Linked DNA regions of Homo sapiens: region 1 is linked to region 2. The links are contacts of gene promoters, found by promoter capture Hi-C in human tissues and cell types (Jung and others, 2019). All regions are on one chromosome and are shown on one strand. Each heading gives the region's core, a stretch centred on a gene start or on the middle of the fragment in contact. The rest is flanking DNA. Distances are from core to core; before and after follow the strand shown.

Region 1 (5,963 bases), core at 964-3,463, 540 kb after region 2:
GATATAACACCTACATACATTTATTTAACTAGCCAATTTGGTCTCCCCTTTTTTTGTTTTGAGACCGAGTCTTGCTCTGTCGCCCAGGCTGGAGTGCAGTGGCGTGATCTCGACTTACTGCAACCTCCGCCTCCCAGGTTCAAGGGATTCTCCTGCCTCAGCCTTCCGAGTAGCTGAGACTACAGGTGCCCACCACCATGTCCGGATAATTTTTGTATTTTTAGTAGACATGGGGTTTCGCCAAGTTGGCCAGGCTGGTCTCAAACTCCTGACCTCACGTGATCTGCCTGCCTCAGTCTCCCAAAGTGTTGGGATTACAGGCATGAGCCACCTCGGCCAGCCGGGTCTCCCTTTTTACATCTGTTTTCCCCTTTCCAGTTCAAATTCTGTATTCTGGGAACATCTTACTTTCTTCACCCTGATTGATTAGGGAAACTTCAGGGTTCTTAGGTAACTTTCTGAAGGACTGGTTTAAGATTCCTAGAGTTGGAAATGGGCGTCTCTCCTGTGTTATTTCTAAAGTGTTATCATCCTAATCCTTCAGAATACTTTCTTGACTTCTTTCTGCTTGATGATTAAGGAATGGTCTCAATTCTCCATAGCCACATCAGACCAAAATTCCATTTCTTTGCCTATGTGAAGGGTTTATTATTAATTACCCTATTAATTTATGTCCAAACCAGATGTGATTTCCTTCTTGGAGCAATAGTTCGTGAAGAGGTTGGTTAACAGCAGTTCTGTGCCCAGGTAAATGAGAGGCAACTGATAAGAGGAACTCGTTGTGTATAAAATCTTAGGATTCTAGATTTAGGACCTTTAAGGCAGTATTTGAATTAGTGCTCTGGAATGTCTATGAAGAAAGTTTGGGTCTCTTCAGCCAGAATTCAGACCATTTCAACATTGCATTCCATGTATCATACACATATCTCCTTTTATTATTATTTTTTCTGCTCTCAAAGCAGATTTCTCTCATTGTAAAATTAGTAGATTCTTAATTCAGAAGATTGGAGAATATTAAAAAAAGCTTAAAGTAAAGCACTTTGAACACTTTATTCCAAATCACTTCACCTCATTTGTGAATAAGTGCATGGATATAGGCTTATAGGACTTTTTCATTCAAAACAGGGTTATATAACAATTGTTTTGAAATCTACTTGTTTCTTCTAACAAAATATAGTGAACAAATTTTCATGTCACTAAATTATGAACTGTGTCATAATCTTTTAATGGCTGCACTGTTCTGTTTGTATATGTAAGTTCTTTCCAGCTTTTTCCCATTATATGCAATGTTTTACTGCATATGCCTTTTCTGTGCACATGTGAATTGTATATTTTGGATAGTCTTAGATATTTTGCTGAGAATGAGGTTTTCATAGTTAAAACCTGTTTACACATCTATATCAATTGCCCTGATTAAGTTTGCACCAATATTCAACATACTATGAGAATGTCTATTCGCTACTATATGGTATCATTAGTCTTTTATTATTATTTTATTTTATTATTATTATTATTTGAGACAGAGTCTCACTCTTGTTGCCAGGCTAGAGTGCAGTGGCATGATCTCGGCTTACTGCAACCCCCGCCTCCAAGGTTCCAGCAATTCCCCCACCTCAGCCTCCCAAGTAGCTGGGACTACAAGGCGCATGTCACCACGCATGGCTAATTTTTGGTTTTTAGTAGAGACGGGGTTTCACCATGTTGGCCAGGATGGTCTCCATCTCCTGACCTTGTGATCCGTCTGCCTTGGCCTCCCAAAGTGCTGGGATTACAGGCGTGAGCCATTGCACCTGGCCATCATTAGTCTTTTAAATCCACCAATCCAGTAGAAATTATATTTATTTAAATGAATTACCCATGCACAGGTTTCATTCAGTGTAATAAAATATGGGCTTCAGAAACAAAAACCAGAACTGAAAGAAAATTGGTTTTGTAGGTAGAAAAATGTGATTTAAAAATGCAGATATGCCATTTATTTTGAGGGTGTATAGCTCACCCCTGTAATCCCAGCACTTTCGGAGGCTGAGACGGGTGGAACACTTGAGCCCAGGAGTTTGAGACCAGCCTGGGCAATATGGTGAAACCCCGTATCTACTAAAAATACAAAAAATTAGCTGGGTGTGGTGGTGCACCTGTAGTCCTAGCTACTTGGGAGGCTGAGATGGGAGGATCACCTGAGCCCAAGGATATTGAGGCTGTAGTGAGCCGTGATTGTGCCAATGCACTCCAACCTGAGCGTTGGAGTGAGACCATGCCTCAAAAAAACAAAAACAAAAAACTCTTAAAATCGAGGGAAAGACCCAAAAACCCGATAGAAAAAGTGAGTAAAAGAAATGAACACATGAAATCACACACACACAGACACACACACACACAAAGAGAGAGAGAGGAAGCACAAATTTTAAAATTATAGCGTGCTGGCTTTTTAAAAAAATAAACCCAGCTGGGTGTGGTGGCTCACGCCTGTAATCCCAGCACTTTGGGAGGCTGACATGGGCGGATCACGAGGTCAGGAGATTGAGACCATCCTGGCTAACATGGTGAAACCCTGTCTCTACTAAAAATACAAAAAATTAGCTGGGCGTGGTGGAGGGCACCTGTAGTCCCAGCTACTCGGGAGGCTGAGGGAGGAGAATGGCGTGAACCTGGGAGGTGGAGCTTGCAGTGAGCCAAGATGGTGCCGCTGCTCCCCAGCTTGGGCGGCAGAGTGAGACTCCGTCTCAAAAAAAAAAAATAATAATAATAATAATAATAAAATAATAAAAAAAAAACCCATGCAACCGCCATTACAGACATAGAAACTTTCCAACATCCCAGAAGGCTCCCTCATATCTCTTCCCAATCATTATACCTCAAAGTTAACCATTAGTTTGACCTCTATAATAGAATAGTTTGGTTTGGTTTTGAACTTCATATAGGTGGAATCATATAGTATGTACTCTTGTGTCTGACCTCCTTTGCTCAACATTATTTCTAAGTATATAGATACATATAGATAACATTATATCCATGTTGCTGTACATAGTAGTAGCTTGTAATTTAACCTTTTTTTTTTTTTTTTTTTGAGACAGGGTCTCATTCTGTACTCCAGGCTAGAGTGACAGTGACACTATCATAGCTCACTGCCACCTCAAACTCCTAGACTCAAACAATCCTCCCACCTCAGCCTCAGCTCCCCAAGTAGCTAGGACTACAGGTGCATACCACCACCACACCCAGACAATTTAAAAAATTTATAGAGATGGGGTCTCACTATGTTCCCCGGGCTGATCTTGAATTCCTGGCCTCAAGTGATCCCCCTGTCTCTCAGCCTCTGAAAGTGCTGGGATGACAAGTGTGAGCCATAGCACCCACCCTTTATCATGTAATTATTTTGTTACTTCCCTCTTGTTCACTCTCTCTACATATATCTGGTTGTATGTCTTAAGTCTTATACTACTAGAAATTAGGAGTTAGGTTGATCAGTATATACAAAGTTTCAGTTATATGAGAGGAATAAGTTTTGGTGTTCTGTTGTGTAACATGATGACTATAGTTAATAATATTAAACATATGAACTGGGGGGGAACAAATCAGTCTATAACAATTCCCAATTAAAAAAAAAAAAAAGAAAACTTGGCCAGGTGCAGTGGCTCACACCTTGTAATCTCAGCACTTTGGGAGGACAAGGTGGGCCAATCGCTTGAGCCCAGGAGTTCAAGACCAGGCTGGGCAACATGGTGAAACTCCATTTCTACAAAAAAATACAAAAAATTAGCTGGGTGTGGTTGTGTGCCTGTAGTCCCAGATACTTGGGAGGCTGAGGTGGGAGAATCACTTGAGCCCTGGAAGTCAAGGCTGTAGTGAGCCGTGATTGCACCACTGCACTCCAGCCTGGGCATCAGCGTGAGACCTTGTCTCAAAGAAACAAAACTCCTCTTAATGTCAAGGGAAAGACCCAAAAACCTGACAGAAAAGATGGGTAAGAGAAATTAACAATTCACAAAAAATATGTAAAAGGGACCCTTAAATGTGTAAAAAGAGAAATACAAATTAAAATAATATGGAGACAGGCCAGGTGAGGTGGCTTACACCTGTAATCCCAGTGCTTTGGGAGCCTGAGGTGGAAGGATTGCTTGAGGCCAGGAGGTTGAGATTACAGTGAGCTATGATTGCACCACTGCACTCTAGCCTGGACAACAAGCAAGACCCTGTCTCTTGGCAGGGGGAGAGGGGGAATACTGAGACCATTTTTAACCTATCAAGATGACAAAAATTAAAAAATATAACAATGTATTCTGTTGGTGAGACAGGATATAGTCGGCTGACTGATGACCCTGCAAAAAGATATGTCCATGTCCTAATCTCTGGAAACTGTGAATGTTACTTAATTTGGAAAGAGGGTCTTTGCAGATGAAATTAAATTAAGAAGTTTGAGATGAGTAGTTCATCCTGGATTGTCTGGGTGGGTTGGGTCCTAAATCCAGTGACAAGCAACCTTAAAAGAGACACAAGGAGACTGGCAGACAGAGGAAGAAGAGGCAGCAATGTGACCCCGGAGGTGGAAATCTCAGTGATGGGGCCAGGAATGTCAAGGAATGGTCAAGGAATGGCTACAGCCACCAGAAAAAGAGGCAAAGTGAGGCTTCTCCCCTAGAATCTCTAGGAGCGCTCCAGCCCTGCTGATGTCTAGATTTTTGGAGTTCTGGCCTCCAGAATGTGAGAGAGTAAACTATTGTTTAAAGCTACCAAGTTTGTGGTAACTTGTTAGAGCAGCCACAGGAATGAATGTACAGGGAATCAGGCAGTCTCATACACTGATGGTGGGAAAACAAACCGGCACAACCCTTATGGTGGGAAATTTGACAACATGTACAAAAACTACCTACACATTTCCCTTGTGACCCAGCCATTCCACTGTTAGGAATCTGCCCTGAAGATACAACTCCACCTATTAAAAAATACAGCCATTAGAATGGATGATGTTTACCGCTACTTGCTGACAAAGAAAAATGTTCACTTGTGTTAAATGAGAAAGACAGGTCTCAGAACAGCAACAATGTTCTAGACGATTCTGTTTTTTAATACTCAGTATATGTAGAGGAGATTAAAGGGATTTATCGTGAGATGCTCATAGGGGGCAACTGTTATTTCAGATTTCTTTTTTAAAATTTTTAATTGACAAGTAATAATTGTATATATTTGTACAACAATTGTATGTATTGTATGTACAATTGTATATTGATGTATATATTTGTACAATAATTGTATAATTTATATGGTACAATGTGATATTTGTATGCATCAATACATGATGGAATGATCAAATCAGGCTGGTTAGCATATCCGTTACCTCAAATATTTACCATTTCTTTGTGGTAAGAACATATAAAATCCTATCTTTTAGCTATTTTGAAATATACAATACAGTAACTATAGTCACTGTGTTGGACAAAAGAACAGCAGAATGTATTCTTCCTATCTAAACAAAACTTTGTACCTGTTAACCAGCATTTCCCCTTTCCCCATCCACCACATCCCCACCCCCCAACCTTTGGTAACCACCCTCCTACTCTCTACTTCTAAGAGTTCAACTTTTTAGATTCCACATGTAAGTGAGATCATACAGTATTTGTCTCTCTGTGTCTGGCTTATTTCACTTAACATAATATCCTCTAGGTATACCCATGTTGTTGCAAATGACAGAATTTCATGTTTAAGGCTGAATAGTATTCCACTGTGTATATATCCTCCATTTAAAAAATCCATTCATCCATTGATGGACACTTAGCTTGTTTCCATATCTTAGTTATTGTGAATAATGCTACAGTTAACATGGGAGTGCAGACATCTTTGACATACTGATGTCAATTCCTTGTGGGGTTGCTGGCTCATATGGTAATTCTATTTTTTGTTTTTTGAGGAAGCTCTACACTGTTTCCCAAAATGGCTGTAGTAATTTACAGTGCTCGCAACAGTGTTCC
Region 2 (5,436 bases), core at 1-2,500:
GACCAACACGGAGAAACCCCGTCTCTACTGAAAATACAAAATTAGCAGGGCGTGGTGACACACGCCTGTAATCCCAGCTACTAGGAAGGCTGAGGCAGGAGAATTGCTTGAACCGGGGAGGCGGAGGTTGCGGTGAGCCGAGATTGCGCCATTGCACTCCAGCCTGGGCAACAACAGCGAAACTCCGCCTTAAAACAAAACAAAACAAAAACAGAGAAGTGTAGGCTGTCATGAGCATTCTTGGTATCAGAGGGGTGAGGTCTCTCCTCTCGAGAATCTGTCCTGACCTCACAGGGAGAGCTGGAGTCACAAAGACAGTCACAAGCACCCCCTACCCAATGCTGCAGTCACCCAGCCACCATGGGGACCCACATAGACCTCCACAGGCACGCCTCACCCAAACAATAACACTATATATGGTCACACAATCATTGTCCCACATCTACCTTGAGGATAAGTTACACTAGCATATTTACAGACCCCTCAAACATAGCACCATTCAGAACCAGAGTGCTACAGATAGTCACAATACCACACGCACTACTGAGCCACACAAAGTTACAGTTCCCCCCTCCCCAGGACCCCTATTGAGCACTACACACAATCACACATTCAAAATAACACAATGACCACTAGGACACACATATCACCCCGGCACGATTACACGCACTTTCCAACCGCAGACACAGTGCTACATAAAGTTACATGGTCACACTCTCACATTCTCACGTTACTGGGTTATTTCTGGGTAGTAGATTTACTCAGTAAGGCATCCAGTACACTTAAGTGCTGCTAACAGTCATACAAACACAATTACACACACCCCTCAGACTAACACACAGTCACAGCCTCATCAGATTCTCTCCACACAAACACCCTCCACAAATGTCACGCAAAGTTACACAGCCACACACAATCACAGTCCCAACACGGGACACAGTCATACCTACACATACAGCCTTACATTGTTACAATTACACAACTACAACGAGGATATACAATCACACCCGCGCACACAGAGAGGCACAGTCACATAAGGTCACACTCACACACGGAAGCCCACGCCTCGCGCCCGCCTCCCCACCACCCCCTCTATCAGCCCGACCAACTCATACATGCCCGACACACTCATACATGCCCAACACTCCAGACCAGCCTGGTCAGTCCCTTCAAACTCCCATGCACGTACCTGCGGGCCCCAGCCGAGCCTGCAAGACCCAGGCCGCTCACCGCGCACTTCCCCTACCCTTGAGGCGGAGGGTCCAGCAGGCAAATGAAGGGGCTGCCCTGGACTCGCGGGGGCCTCTGGGAAATACAGTCCGGAGTAGGACCGCGCCGAGAAGATGGCGCCTGTTTTTTCGGGTTCTTGCAGCTGCACAGCTCGGGGACATCCCTGCTCCGCACTCCGAACCGCTACCCCGCGTCTCCGTGATCCAGACACAGGCTCAGAGTGAAACTGCCGTAGGACGCTGGCCCTGCACGCTGAAGACAATCTTCCTCCATGGTACCGGCCAACCCCAGGGAGTTCCCTGAGAAACAGGAAAAGGTCGCCAGCTTCGGGCCAGATGTTGACTAGAGCCGCAAGGATTTTTGGGAACTGTAGTCTAGAGCAGGAAGGGGTGAGGCGCTGGGGCAAGTGGAAGGAGGTCGCTTAAATGACTTCCTGCCCCAAGCCGACTCAGTGCAGAACGCACCCAGGACCCCGGACTGTACTAGGCGTTATAACGCTCTCTGAGAATGCTAGACTGACTAAATCGTCATTTTTGCCTTCATCCGTGGATAAGCCACATACTGTATGACTGCATTTATAGGAAATATTTAAAATAGTCAAATCTACGGAAAAGGAGTAAGTTAGAGTTTTTTAGGACTAGCAGGATTAGGGGGAACTGTGAGTGATTGGTAATAGCTAAAGGGTTCATTTTTGGGGTAATGCAAAGCTTCTTGAATTAGATAATGATGTTTGCACAACTCTGAATACACTAAAAGTGACTGAATGGTACACCATAAACGAGCTAATGTTATAGTTTGTAAATTATATTTGTGTGCATGTTTTTTAAAAATCAACTTTACTGAAGAATAATTTAGATACAATAAAATGCACTCATTTTAAGTGAACTGTTCGGTAAGCTTCAACGCATGTCTAAACCCTTGTCACCACCATCGTAATCAGGATATAGAATATTTTTTAAAATTAAAAAATTTTTAAGCATTTTAGTTAAATTTTTGTGGGTACATAGTAGTTGTATATGGGGTACATGAGATGTTTTGATACAGGCATGCAATGCGTAAGAATCATATCATGTAAAATAGGGTGTCTATCCCCTCAAGCATTTATCCTTAGTGTTACTGGATATAGAATTTTTTTTTTTTTTTTTTTGAGTTGGAGTCTAGCTGTCACCCAGGCTGGACTGCAGTGGCGAGATCTCGGCTCACTGCAAGTTCCGCCTCCCGGGTTCAAGCGATTCTCCTGCCTCAGCCTTCCGAGTAGCTGGTATTACAGGTGCCCGCCACCATGCCTGGCTAATTTTTGTATTTTTAGTAGAGACAGGGTTCGAGCTCACAGGCTGGTCTCGAACTCCCGACCTCGAACTTCTGACTTCGTGATCCGCTCGCCTCGGCCTCCCAAAGTGCTGAGATTACAAGCGTGAGCCACCGCGCCCGGCGGATATAGAATATTTTTATTCACCGCCCTCTGCCCCCCACATTGTTAAGTCAATCCCCACCTCCCAAACCCCACATCAGGCATCTATTGACTATTCTAAGGAATGAGCAGTAGTATCAAATTATGTTTTTAATTTGCATTTCCTGATGTCAATGAACTTAGCATACTTTCATATACTTATTTGCCATTCTTTTATCTTCTTTTGTGACATCTATTGAAAATATTCGGCTGGGCGCAGTGGCTCACGCCTGTAATCCTAGCACTTTGGGAGGCTGAGGCGGGCAGATCACCTGAGGTTGGGAGTTCGAGACCACCCTGACCAACGTGGAGAAACACCGTCTCTACTAAAAATACGAAATTGGCCAGGCGTGGCGGTGCATGCCTGTAATCCCTGCAGGAGAATCACTTGAACCCGGGAGGCAGAGGTTGCTGTGAGCTGAGATCACACTGTTGCACTCCAGCTAGGGCAACAAGAGCAAAACTGCATCTCAAAAAATAATAATAAATAAATAAATAAATAAAATTTTCTTATTTTAAAATTGGTTATTATTGAGTTGTAACAATTCTTTATATGTTTGGGTAAAAGTCCTTTGCCAAATATACATATTGCAAATTGCAAATATTCTCTCCCTGCCTGGGGCTTACCTTCTCAGTTTTTTTTTTTTTTTTTTTTTGAGACAGGGTCTTGCTCTGTTGCCTAGTCTGGAGTGCAGTGGTGTTAACATAGCTCACCACAGCCTTGACCTCCTGGGTTTAGTCGATCCTCCTGAGTAGCTGGGACTGCAGGTGTGCACCACCACCCCCAACTAATTTTCTTGTGTTTTGTGGAGATGGGGTCTCACTGTGTTATTACAGGTGTGAGTCACTGTGCCCAGCCCTCAGTTTCTTCATGATGTCTTTCAAAAAGCAGTTTTTACTTCTGATGAAATCCAATTTCTCATCTTTAAAATGTGCTTCATGCTTTCTGGTCTTTCTAACAATCTTTGACTCCTCTAGTGTTGTGAAGAATTTCTCCTATGTTTTATTCTAAAGGTTGTATAGTTTTAGTTTTTATTTTTGGTCTATCATCCACTTGAAGTTAGTTTTTGTGTATGTGAGGTAATGTTCAAAGTTATTATTTTCCAGATGGAAATTCAGTTGTTCTAACATCACATGTTAACAAAACTATCATTTTCCTCTTGAATGACCTCAACATCTAAAGTAGGCAGGATAATGTTCCCCCCAAAATACCCACATGCTAGTTCCTGGGACTTGTGAATATGCTATGTTACATGGCAAGTGGAATTAAATTAACAGGTAGAATTAAAGTTGCTAATCGGCTGACCTTAACATAGGGGAATTATACTGGATTGTCCAGTTAGACCCAATGTAATCACATGGGGTCTGAAATGAGGAAGAAGGCATAAAGTCAGTGTTGGAATTGTGTGCTGTGAGAAACACACGACCAGCCATTATTGGGTGTAAAGATGAAAGGAGCCCATGAGCTGAGGAATGCAGGCAGCTTCTCCAACTTGGAAAATGAAAAAAAACAAATTCTCCAGAGCCTCCAGAAAGGAATGCAGCTTGCAAACTTTTGATTTTAGAGCAGAAAAAACTCATTTCTTTTTTTTAATTTTTAATTTATTTTTTTAATTTTTATTTATTTATTTTGAGATGGGGTCTCCCTCTGTTGCCCAAGCTGGAGTGCAGTGGTGGGATCTCGGCTCACTGCAACGTCTGCCTCCTGGGTTCAAGTGATTCTCCTGCCTCAGCCTCCCTAGTAGCTGAGATTACAGGCACCCACCACCATGCCCGGCTAATTTTTCTTTCCTTTTTTTTTTTTTTTTTTTTTTTTTTTTTAAGTAGAGACAGGGTTTCATCATGTTGGCTAGGCTGGTCTTGAACTCCTGACCTCAAGTGATCTGCCTGCCTTGGCCTCCCGAAGTACTGGGATTACAGGTGTGAGCCACTGCACCCAGCATTTTTTTTTTTTTTTTTTTTTTTTAGAGACAAGGTCTTGCTCTGTCTCCCAGGCTGGAATGCAGAGGTATGATCACAGCTCACTGCAGCCTCATACTCCTGGACTTAAGCATCCTTCCGCCTAGGCCTTCTGAGTAGCTGGGACTATTGGTGTACACCACCACACCTGGCTAATTGAAAAAAAAATTTATAGAGAGAGGGTTTAGTTATGTTGCCCAGTCTAGTTTCAAACTCCGGGCCTCAAGTAATCCTCCCACCGAGGCCTCCCAAAGTGCTGGGATTACAGGCATGAGCCACCACAACAGCTGTGTCATCCCAACCCCTCTCTGGGCTTGATCACATAAAGAAGGCTTGCATTCCTCAGATAAAAGCCATTTATTTTCTTTTTCAACACTATGCGGAGTGAGATAAGCCAGACCAAAAGGACAAATATTGTATGAATCCACTTATATGAGGTGCCTAGAATAGGTGTATTCATAGAGACAGAAAGTAGAATTGAAGTTACATGAAGTTATATGAGGTACATGATAAAGCCTCTATACTTAAAACAGTGTGCTATTTGTGTGTGGTTAGAGAGACAGACAAAGGGAGGAGGATGGGAAATGGAGAAATAAACATCCATGGCCGGGCGCGGTGGCTCACGCCCAGCCCTTTGGGTGGCCGAGGTGGGTGGATCACCTGAGGTCAGGAGTTCGAGACCAGCCTGGCCAACATGATGAAACCCCATCTCTACTAAAAATACAAAAAATAAGCTGGGCATGGTGGCATGCGCCTGTCATCCCAGCTACTCAGGAGGCTGAGGCAGGAGAATTGCT

What was found. The method cuts DNA at HindIII sites, captures the fragments that hold promoters and counts their contacts. A contact is called where the count stands out against the background at its distance.
Region 1: a contact is called between a fragment that was not itself captured here and the fragment with the promoter of ZNF383 in region 2, in 2 of the 25 tissues and cell types used here (hippocampus and pancreas).

What each region holds. Positions count from the first base shown.
Region 1 is chr19:36,679,385-36,685,347 of GRCh38, reverse strand. It overlaps a transcript of ZNF567 not described here. Among named protein-coding and RNA genes, the nearest start is that of ZNF567-DT, 5.1 kb to the left of the region's middle. The HindIII fragment of the contact is 6,888 bases long and covers 1-5,657 here.
Region 2 is chr19:37,214,028-37,219,463 of GRCh38, reverse strand. It overlaps ZNF383 (zinc finger protein 383), which reads right to left and starts at 1,250. Exons shown (of 6, transcript NM_001387601.1): 1 at 1,190-1,250. RefSeq lists an enhancer at 1,135-1,624. The HindIII fragment of the contact is 10,545 bases long and covers 1-5,436 here.